Linked DNA regions of Homo sapiens: all the other regions are linked to region 1. Evidence: promoter capture Hi-C in 16 types of primary human blood cells and fetal thymus (Javierre and others, 2016). All regions are on one chromosome and are shown on one strand. Each heading gives the region's core, a stretch centred on a gene start or on the middle of the fragment in contact. The rest is flanking DNA. Distances are from core to core; before and after follow the strand shown.

The links. Contacts are between HindIII fragments. The CHiCAGO score rates a contact against its expected background, and 5 or more counts as called.
Region 2: a fragment that was not itself captured here is called in contact with the fragment with the promoter of XRN2 in region 1 in 1 of 17 cell types (total CD4 T cells); the score reaches 6.4 in total CD4 T cells.
Region 3: a contact is called between a fragment that was not itself captured here and the fragment with the promoter of XRN2 in region 1, in 1 of 17 cell types (total CD8 T cells). The highest score is 7.0, in total CD8 T cells.

Annotation. Positions count from the first base shown.
Region 1 is chr20:21,300,954-21,304,580 of GRCh38, reverse strand. It overlaps XRN2 (5'-3' exoribonuclease 2), which reads right to left and starts at 1,250. Exons shown (of 30, transcript NM_012255.5): 1 at 1,108-1,250. The coding sequence starts at 1,182. RefSeq lists an enhancer at 653-702 and a silencer at 1,423-1,552. The HindIII fragment of the contact is 6,284 bases long and covers 1-3,627 here.
Region 2 is chr20:18,503,947-18,507,573 of GRCh38, reverse strand. It overlaps the pseudogene RPS19P1 and a transcript of SEC23B not described here. Among named protein-coding and RNA genes, the nearest start is that of SEC23B, 2.2 kb to the left of the region's middle. RefSeq lists an enhancer at 1-93. The HindIII fragment of the contact is 2,905 bases long and covers 345-3,249 here.
Region 3 is chr20:18,569,370-18,572,996 of GRCh38, reverse strand. It overlaps SMIM26 (small integral membrane protein 26), which reads right to left. Exons shown (of 2, transcript NM_001348957.2): 2 at 3,437-3,627. The coding sequence ends at 3,592. Among named protein-coding and RNA genes, the nearest start is that of SMIM26, 3.8 kb to the right of the region's middle. The HindIII fragment of the contact is 2,280 bases long and covers 762-3,041 here.

The sequences.
Region 1 (3,627 bases), core at 1-2,500:
GTTAAAGGTGGAGAAATGGGATGAGAAGGGGTAGAGCAAGAACTGTTGCTTTTTGTTTAACCCACGTGCAAGTAAAGTTCAATAAAGTTCGATTAAAATTTTACAAAGGAAACAAGTATTCAATTTAGCAGTTGCTTTTTGAAAAAAACAAGAAATAGTGGGAATGTCACTAAGACAAGGCTTTTGGTTCCTCCTTGGATAGAAGCCAAGAAAGTTAAAAAAAAAAAAAAAAGCAGAAATAAGTTCACAGTGACAGGCAAGCACTGCCTTCAAAAACTAAGGAGTGAGGTACGCGTGATGTGCCTCTGAACGTTTCCAATCCAGAAATTCTAATTAAGAGCACAAAATCGAATCCGCATGGAATGACGAAAACAATAAAAACAAAACTCAATAATGGCCAAAAATCTACTTACGTATTAACTAACAACAAAAATTGTACTGCTCAAGTACATCCAGTAATCTTGAAATTTTCAACAAGCACCCACCCCGTTCAGTAGTCAGGGCACACAGAGAAGGGTAACTTCTCAGAATTCTATAGCGCTCATCCTGGACCTGACATACTGCTTTCAGCGTCCAATCTAACCAGAACAACAAATGGTCCTGAACACTAGGAGAAAACCTTTCCGGCACAATTGGTAAACAACGAAAAGGTCGCCGCCAGGGATTCCTTTACAAGGTTGTCAAAAAGCTGGCCTCCGAATCCGTGCATCCATAACCCGCTAGCTCAGCTGACCTGGCATGCATTGCTCAACAACAGCCTCTGAACCTCTTCCGAGACCCAAAATGCGCGGTCTGGAGAGGAAACAAAGCAGTGGGCGGGGCCTTCCGGTGCCGGGAAAAAGCGAGTAGGGGAGGAGCGACCCTCCTGCGAGTTCGGAACCCTATAGGCCCTTGCCCCGCCGAGGGTCCTGAATTCCTCGCCCCCGGGGTGCTGAATCCCACAGCCCGCGTCCCATCGCGTGTGGGGCTGCGACTGCTCGCGAGGCTGGCAGCAGGGCGCGAGCTCCGGCAAGGCTCCCCGGGGGCAGGCGGCGGAGCCCATGGGCCGCGGCCTAGACGTGCCGGGGGCCCGGGCTCGAGTGTGGCGGCCGCCTGGCGCCTCCTCACCTTCTCTTCCACGCAGTTGACTATGATGGACGGGTACTTGCGGCTGAGCCAGCGGAAGAACGCCGGGACTCCCATAGCGGCACACGGCTGGAGGCGGCGGCCGACCGGCTGACGAGCGTAACCAAAGAGACGGGAGCAGCGGCAGAGGGCACCAGCACTTCCTCCCACGTGCGCGCTGGAGAACGGAAGTGACGTCACGGCGCCGCCGCCGGGGAAGCTGGGAAGGAGGCTTCGCTGGATGAGGGAGCGGCGGAAAAGGGCCTTGCCGGGCTGTTTGTGGGAGGCGGAGTCCGGCGGCGGACCGGGTGGCGAAGGCTGCAGCTCGCCCTCGGTGGTCCCAGCCCCGGAGCGCGAGGCCGAGCGCGTCTGAGTTGCGGGGGCTCACGGGCGACTGCTCTGCCGGGGCTCCGCCGGGATCTCCCAGCCCCAGCCCTCCGGCTCCCTGGGCACAGAATCGCTGCGCTCTGCATGCCCGGGAGGAGGTCTCCCTTGCCCGTTTGGTCACCTCTTGTTTGGAAGAAAATGTCTTTTTTTGCCTCTATGCTCACCCGTCTCAATCTAGGGTAGAATCGAAGCATCCAAACTTACTCGTTACTTCCATTTCCTGGTTTCTCCTAGTTTTGTGCTGCAGTACGTACCTGGACTATCAAAAGGAGCATTTTAAAGCATTTTACAGTAATAATGGCTGCTTTGCACCAATAATTTGATTGTTATGCAAATAAATAATTATGATAGTTACCGAATGGAATCTAGCCGGTATTTAGCATCCAATACAATCTTCCAGCTACAATTACGGGTATAAAATAGTTGCTAATATGATTTTCCAGCATTTACTGAGCCTTTACAGTGTACCAAGACATTGACTAAGGGATTGTCCTATGTAATCTTCACTTGAACCTTGTGAGGGTACTGTTAGCACCCTCGTGTAAATGATAAGAAAGCCAAGTTACAGAGGAGTTAAGTCACTTATGCACATAGCTTCTGTTTCAGTTCAAGCAAAGGTCATTTTTAATCCATCCTTGTTCTAACACGATACTTTTATCTTTTGTTTTCTGGTGGTCCCAAACGAATTTTTTCCATATGAAAGGAGAGGTCTGGAAGAGGAGGTATATTTGTCCGTTTGCTCAAGCCTGGAAGTCTCCCTGAATCCCCTCTTGGTTTGACACACATCACACACGATGCTAAATGCTCACCTCATGAGGCCTCTGTGAAAGTATTTCGCCGAGTTACCTCACAGGCAGTATTTATTGCCCCCTCCTCTGTGGTCTGATGACTACTTTGTTTAAACTACTAGTGTGGAAATTAGAGAAATAGTCATCCCGTGTTTTACTTAAGGATAGCCAAAACTATTCCAAAGTATTATGTCTATGGTGAAATTCCTCCTTTTACCTGGAAGCAGCCCCTCTGGTTTCCCTGGGAGGTGCTGTTATAGGAACATGTACACCATAGGCAGTTCAGGGATAGACAGCTGGCCAAGTTGAGCCATTTAGAATCCTTAACCAGCATTTTGGCGGGTTGGGAGGGTTTATTGTTTTGTTTTTGTTTTTTCAGACGGAGTCTCAGTCATCCAGGCTGGAGTGCAGTGGCAAGATCCAGGCTCACTGCAACCTCCACCTCCCGGGTTCAAGCGATTCTCCTGCCTCAGCCTCCCGAGTAGCTGGGATTAGAGGCGCCTGCCATGACACCCCGCTGATTTTTGTGTTTTTAGTTGAGACAGGGTTTCACCATGTTGGCCAGGCTGGTCTCGAACTCCTAACCTCAGGTGATCTGCCCACCTCGGCCTTCCAGAGTGCTGGGATTACAGGTGTGAGCCACTGCACCCAGCCTTACCAGCATTTTTGAGCTTTGAACCATAAGAAATTTAAGACTGCATCTTTCCAGTGCGTGAACGCTAAAAGATAAGAATTGGGACTTGTTGCCAGTAGGCAATGAGAGAAGCAGGGTTAATTCCCTGGTTCCAGTTAAATCCCTCTCTTCCTGCAGTTTGATTAAGTCTGTCCTTTGATTCTGTGAGCCAAATTTTTTTTTTTTTTTTTTTTTAAGACAGAGTCTCACTCTGTTGCCAGGCTGGAGTGCAGTGGCACCATCTCGGTTCACTGCAACCTCCACCTCCCAGGTTCAAGCGATTCTCCTGCCTCAGCCTCCCAAGTAGCCGGGACTACCAATGTGCGCCACCACGCCCGGCTAATTTTTGTATTTTTAGTAGAGATGGGGTTTTACCATGTTGGCCAGGATGGTCTCAATCTCTTGACCTTGTGATCCGCCCGCCTTGGCCTCCCAAAGTGCTGGGATTCCAGGTGTGAGCCACCACTCCCAGCCAAAAGTTTCCTTTTGCCCTAAGCTGGCTTGGGCTAAATTCTTATCCCTTACAAAGGAAAGAGTCCAGTAACAAAATTTGGGGAGTGCAAGCTAATTCACCTGGGTGGTGAAATTGGTTTGCATAGAAGTACTAAAATTGGAGTTTTGGCACTCAGAGAAGGAGTGGGTAAAAGAGAGAAGAAACTTGAAAGGCGGCAGGAG
Region 2 (3,627 bases), core at 548-3,047, 2.8 Mb after region 1:
ACCGGAAAGCGAGAACGATGACGTATGCTCGCGGAACAGGGAGCTGCACTGGTTGGAAGAAACTAAGGCTGCCGGAAGAAGGCATTAGCATGCGGAAGGGGCGGGGCGGGTGGTGAGCGCGGCGGCGCTTACGCACTTGCTGGTTTGGGAGTCGGTCTCTGTGGTTAAGTTTGAAGTACAGAGGTGTGGTGGTGCTTCACGTTACAAGCTCTCCTACCGTCGCTTGCTGTAATGTCTTGGCGCTCTCAGCGGAGGCTGGCACTAGCGCACAGTCCCTGTCATCCTTCTACATGGAGATAAATAATTGAGAACTGTAATATTCAACCATTTTAGGAGAGTAAGCTTAGAAATACATGGAACATAACTTTCTTTTAAAAAATAATTCCAACGTTTAGATTTAGGGGGTACACTGCGTATTTGTTACCTGGCTATGAGGTTTCGAATTCGAATGAGCTGGTCACCCAGATACTGAGCATAGTACCCAAGTTTTTCAGCCCCTCCCTGCCTCCCTCCCCACTCTAGTAGTCCCCAGCGTCTATTAATGTCACCTTTGTGTCCATGTGTGCCCAATGCTTAGCTCCCACTTTCAAGTGAGAACATGTATTTGGTTTTCTGCTTCTGCGTTAATTCTTTTAGGATCATGGCCTCCAGATGCATCCATGTTGCTGCAAAAGGCGCGATAGAACACAACTGTATAAAGCCACCACAACCATTTTTACACACGCTGACAAGTGGCAAACATGAACACATCATTACTGTGACTCAGAGTTGTAGTCTCTGTAGCATATAAAAATAAGCAAAACGATGTAAACATAAAATTATGCAAGAACATATCTAGGCATCCAAGAAGTATCCATTAATTAGCTCAATTTAATACTAAGTTTTAAGTTATCTACAGATCATAGAAATTATTAATAGTTTAAGGCACAAAGAAACAATTACTGTTAAATGTGAGAATGATTCAGTTTTGTTGAACAAATTCACATTTTTCAGGATCTTAAACAATGTAATGTTAATATTAGCTTATCAATAGTAAACTTTTATAAATTTAGGAAGTTCAGATTAATTATTCTCGGTAAGGAAACAAACTCAAAATGTACACATGTATAATACTTAACACTGAGAAAAGACATAGCTGGGATTTTTTTTAACCAAAACTTAATATTATTCGCCAAAGATTTGCCTTGATTATTTGAACCTGGATTCTTTCTGTACTAGCAATTTCTGTAAGAAAGATTGTTATAGGACCATCAGGTTCGATTGTCCATTGTGCGGTAACAGAAAGAATAGGAGTTGCAGCAGATAAAGAGTTCCATAATCAAGTGGCAGCCAAATGAGGAGACAAGAGCAATCCTCAAATCCACCTCCCCAAGAGATTAGAGATGGCATTTTTAAGAAGTCTGGAGGGGCAATGGGCTAAAGTGTGGGGATTTCTGATTGGTCAGGAAGTGAGAGGTGAAGTCATGGGACAGGGAGATGAAGAAACTTCATTCCAGTGTTGTTTCTTGGTGGAGGTCTTTATTTATTTATTTAAAAAAATTTTTTTTTTGTAAAGCAGGGTCTCACTTTGTTGCCCAGGCTAGTCTCAAACTCCGGGCTTCAGGCGATCCTCTCACCTTGGCCTCCCAAAGTGCTAAGATTACAGGCGTGAGCCACTGTGCCCTTCCTGGTGGGGATCCCTAGACAGTTTGGCATCAGCTGTTTTGTGGGAATTCAGGATCTGAAAAATACCTTAAGCAATTCCTGGGTACAAAGAGCTAGTGTCAGAGATTCTGTGGATAGGAGCAATCAGGGAGTAGGTGATCAGTGTGCTGCAAGGCTTTTGGTTAGTTAGCAGCTGCAGGGAAGTGAATTGAAGGGCACCAATGCACCCTGGTCAGTGCCTAACTAACCTGCCTAAAGGCTGGCTTGTAATCTTGTTAACCCTGTCAGGATGGTTTCAGCATTTTTAAGAAATTTTGCATGCATAAGTTTAATTTACTTATTTTCTGGAATTTTAGAAATAATTGATTTACATGTGTTTGTTTCCATAAGTGAATTATAACAGAGCTCCTTTAAGACATGAAATAATATAACTTATTAAAACTTTACAAAGGTAGTAAGATTTTTTTACTCCCACAACAAGAGGGGAAGGCCTTTGTTGATTACAGCCGGGAAGACACATAGACACATAGCATATAGCTTTGGTTCTGCAACTTTGGCCACAGGTCGAAAGTAAATTCAGAAACATAAAAATTCAGTGGACTAGATAACAAAAAGCTGTTCTCCTTCCCAATGGGCATGGAAGTCTTAACTGATTTGAACTCATAAGTAGACAAAAAGGCAAACAAACAAAAAGACTAACAAACCAGATTTTTCATCATCTCTTATCCAAAAGAGAATAGATCTCTAAAAACTATTAATTCACTTAAAGAGATCACCAAATGTTCAGAATGTAAAACCTAGTTCCTAATTTTTTTTTTTTTTTCTGAATGAGGCAATGTATTAACCCAGCATGGTTTGTTCCAATGCTTCTTGTTGGCAGCTGCCACCTGTCCGGCAATTCTGCCCAGATCTCTCTGTCCCTGAGGTGTCAGTTTGCGGCCCCCATCTTGGTCCTTTTCCACCATTTTCAGCCCCTCCAGGGCTTGGAGGACCCGGCGGAGGACACTCTTGAAGCCTCGGCCGAAGTGGCTGGGCATGACGCCGTTTCTCTGACGTCCCCATAGATCTTGGTCATGGAGCCAACCCCAGCGCCACCCTGGAGGTACAGGTGCCGCGCTGTGGAACCGGCTCGTGTGTAGAACCAGTTCTCAACGTAGGGAGGAAGCTCTTTGTGCTTGGCCAGCTTGACGGTGTCCACCCATTCGGGGACTTTCAGCTTCCCGGACTTTTTGAGAAAGGCTGCCAGAGCTCTGACGAAGTCCCGCTGGTTCACGTGGTTTACAGGAACTCCAGGCATCGTGCGGCTTCCGCGCTGCCAGCCAGGGGAAAGGGAGCAACGGGGTTTCCCGCGAGTTCCTAATTGGTGTCGCCATTCATGGGGAAAAATCCGCCAGCTGTGGGCGAATCAGAAACAAAACCCAAAATCAGTAAGGAGGAGAAAGAAACCTAGGGAGAAAGTCAGCAACGCTGTAGTACTATTGCTACTTGGTATTCACTCCCGGAGCCAGGAAAAAATGTGCTTGGGCTTAGCCCCATGGGGTGTTCTTCAGTAATGTGGTTTACCTGGTTCTGTCAGGTGAATCCATTGGGATGTTGGTGAAAGCTTCAAAACTGTTAAAGTGTTTCAAAAGGTAAAATTATGGCCTTCATGCAAATATAAAATGAACATGTGCCAAAGATCTTACTTAACTCATTCATTGATTTTAATTAATCCCTACGACCAGGAGGGATGTTCAGACTGGTTCTAAGGAGAATTTGATTTATAGTGACATATTCTCTATCACACAAAATTGATTTGCATTGCTGTGGACAGGAATAGTTTTCATTGTTGTGGGCAGGGAACATTTGCATTACTATCTTCTATAAGTTAATTTCTATCTCTACAGAGTTGTAAAATAGCATACTCAAAGGCAGAGGTACATCCCTCCTACGGCAAATGACCCAGGGGATTTTTTGTTTTTGAAACGAAGTCTCGCTCTGTCG
Region 3 (3,627 bases), core at 652-3,151, 2.7 Mb after region 1:
GGCGGATCACTTGAGGCCAGGAGTTTGAGACCAGCCTGGCCAATATGGCGAAACCCCATCTCTACTAAAAATGCAAAATTAGCTGGGTGTGATGGCGCAGGCCTGTAGTCCCAGCTACTCGGGAGGCTCAGGCATGAGAATTGCTTGAACTTGGGAAGCGGAGGTTGCAGTGAGCCGAGATCGCACCACTGCACTCCAGCCTCGGTGACAGAGCGAAACTGTCTCAAAAAAAAAAAGACATGTTCAGACATGAAAAATCACCAAAAAATTATATACCCTTTTTCAGAATTATGGGGACACAGTATCGAGAAAACAGAGATCCATTATAGGATGGCAAAGCAAATAGCAAAGAAAAATGGATGCAAAGCAGAACTAGAGTGATCAGTCCAGATTGTACCAAGAAGACAAAGAGCTCCAAGATTTAAAAACAGAAAAGAGAAACTGGAAAGGTTTGTGTGGAAAATTATATTGTGAGGTTAGAGGATGTGGAAAGAATGAGAGAGAAACATCAAGAAAACAAAGCAAATGAAAAAAAGAGTGCAGTTAACTCCAGAAAGAAAAGTTATATGAGAAACAATTATAGCTCACTTACTTGGCTTATCAACAAACTATGTTTGCATAGTTAAAACAGGGTAAATATTAATTATTGATTCATCAAAAATATGCAATAGTTTTATTGGTTAGTCAGTTGGAAAGGAGGATCAAATCCTCATTAATAAATCCCATACATGATTGATAAATTAAAGATATTAGTAAAAGCTTATTATTTAGAAATGTGGACGTAAATACCAAAAAAAAAAAAAAAAAAACCTAATAGTTGAAAGCAAGGAGGGATAAAGCAGGAACTGTTTTTTTGGTTACAAACTTTTGATCATTATTTAATTTTTTAATGCATTTGTTGCTTTGTTAAAAATATAAAAATTAATTTCAAAAAAGTCATGCTGGCTAATACTGTAGAAACCAATTGGAGGGGACTCCAAGTAGAGACAAAGAGAGTAGGAAGTTGAGGCTACATAAGCAAAGAGGATGGAGGATTTAAGTAAGGTAGTGGTAAAGGGAATGGGAAGGTGGGAATGGAGTGGAATATTTGCAGTAGAAATGATGGGACCTGGTGGCTGGAGGAAGGAGAAGGAACAAGAAGAGGGAGAAGTCTAGAATGATAGGTTCCTAATTTGAGGAACTGAGTACTCTCTGAGAAAGAGAACGGAAGGAAGAGCAGCCTTGTGGGTGATGACAGCAATTTAAGTTATGGACAAAGCTGAGGTGGCTAGATATCCAAGTGGCAATGCTAGATGGACATGGATCTTGAGTTCAGGAGAACGCTGGGCTGAAATAAGAGAATAAATTAGATCTAGCAAAGAAACCCAGCCAAGTCCCAAGGAAAGCTAACCCAAATGTCCCCTTAAGCCCCACAAGTGTATGAATCCTGGGTAGACTGCCAGGTGAGAGTAGAAGTTCAGCTGTTTATCCTCGGTGTGCTCTATTAACAACTCTCACCTGCCAAGTGCCACAGCCCCTCAGCCCTTGCCCTTTGTTTCTCTGGAAGCCCTCATGTTAGGAAATGTCTTCCAAAACGTTCATGCTACTGTTCCCATTTCTCCCATACTTCTGATTCACTTGCTTCTCACCTTCCCCATCTACTGTCGTACACTGCTTCTCATTCATCAGTTTGATGCCAACCAAGATGGTCCACTGGAATACACAGCCAATTGGCACGAATCCATGCTTGACCTGATATCCCTTGGGAAGCTGAGTCTCTGCTACCAGCATCTGGAGCTGTTACTTGTGATTTTGGAATCCTTGTCACTAAGGCTGACTGCACCACAGCACTGCTCAGGCCACCCATAATGGTGGAACTGACACCAATGAGAAATCAAGATGAGGGTCTGAAGGTCATAGTACTGTAGAGGAACCCTGAAATGCCCAATTCCTGTCCTACCACACATCACATCTCTACTCACAGGGTCCCAACAGCTATGAACAGGAAAACACTACCTAAATGAGAAACAAATGCCACTTTATTCATAACTGAGGCAGTACTCTATAATCCATAGGCAGGGATCTGATAAAAACTGAACTGAGTCTCTCGCAAGGGTGGAAGCCAAAGACCAGGTTGAGGAGAGGCTGGTCAGACTTTGGCACTGCACATGGGAGGTAGTATCTTCTTGGGATATTTGTATTACTCCAGAAAGGTGAGAAAAGCAGCTGGTGTGCAATAAGAAAAGCAAGGCCAAGAGCCCAGGCAGGCTCAACAAGTGGCTGCCTGCATTCTGGTCCCAGTGTCAGGCCTTCTGAAGACAACATACTGCTTTTTTTTTTTTTTTTTGAGATGGAATCTCGCTGTCAACAGGCTGGAGTGCAGTGGTGCGATCTCAGCTCACTGCAACCTCCGCCTCCCAGATTCAAGCGATTCTCCTGCCTCAGCCTCCCAAGTAGCTGGGACTACAGGTGCGCGGTGCCATGCCCAGCTAATTTTTGTATTTTTAATAGAGACAGGGTTTCACCATGCTGGCCAAGACGGTCTCGATCTCTTGACCTTGTGATCCGCCCCTCGGCCTCCCAAAGTGCAGGGAGTACAGGCGTGAGCCACCGCTCCTGGCCCATACTCTCTGCTTTAATTCTGAGCTACCAATACACGTTTTTTATAAACACCCACTTTTGATTTAAGCTCACTTGTGTTTGTTGCCTGCAACCAAGAGACCACTGAGGAAACTGGTTCAGCATCAATCATGTCGTCCTGACTGCATTCCCAGCATTAGAATAGCACTGGCCACAGTTGGTGGGTAATCCACACTTGCTGAAGGAATGAGGGGTATGTGCACTGGTCCTAAAGAATAGGTCCAGTCTGTTTAATTCAGAAGTTACAATCAAATTTATATCATACTTACCCAGTACGCAGTAGTACCCAAAGGGCTACTGTGAATCCCAAAGTGAATATGGAGATTTGCTGAAACTAACCTTAAAGCGACCACTAAAGCTGTGCCTAATAGCAACATGAAAGAAATATAAATCTACATTAACTAGTTTCAGGAAATCAAGCTTATGGAAGCTCTATGTGAAATTTCACAGCAATCTTTCACTCATGCAAATACAGAGGAACACCTCTTGAAAATGCAGATAGTAGGCCGGGGACCGTGGCTCACACCTGTAATCCCAGCACTTTGGGAGGCTGAGGCAGGCGGATCACAAGGTCAGGAGATGGAGACCATCCTGGCTAACACGGTGAAACCCTGTCTCCACTGAAAACACAAAAAATTAGCCAGACATGGTGGCAGGCGCCTTTAGTCCCAGCTACTCGGGAGGCTGAGGCAGGAGAATGGCATGAACCTGGGAGGCGGAGCTTGCAGTGAGCCGAGATCGAGCCACTGCACTCCAGCCTGGGTGACACAGCAAGACTCCGTCTCAAAAAAAAAAAAAAAAAAGAAAACGCAGATAGTTTCCTTCAAGAAAATATTTATTGCATATTATTAGTGATTATGTTTTACAGCAAATTTAAATACATACACTTTTCACAAACCCAAAATGGGAATCAGGGCAACTATCAAATTTAAATGTTGAACCAAGTCCTGGTTTTCAGAATTCAGCAGCCAGTCATGGTTCTGTACCAGGGCCACCAGTCCATGATTT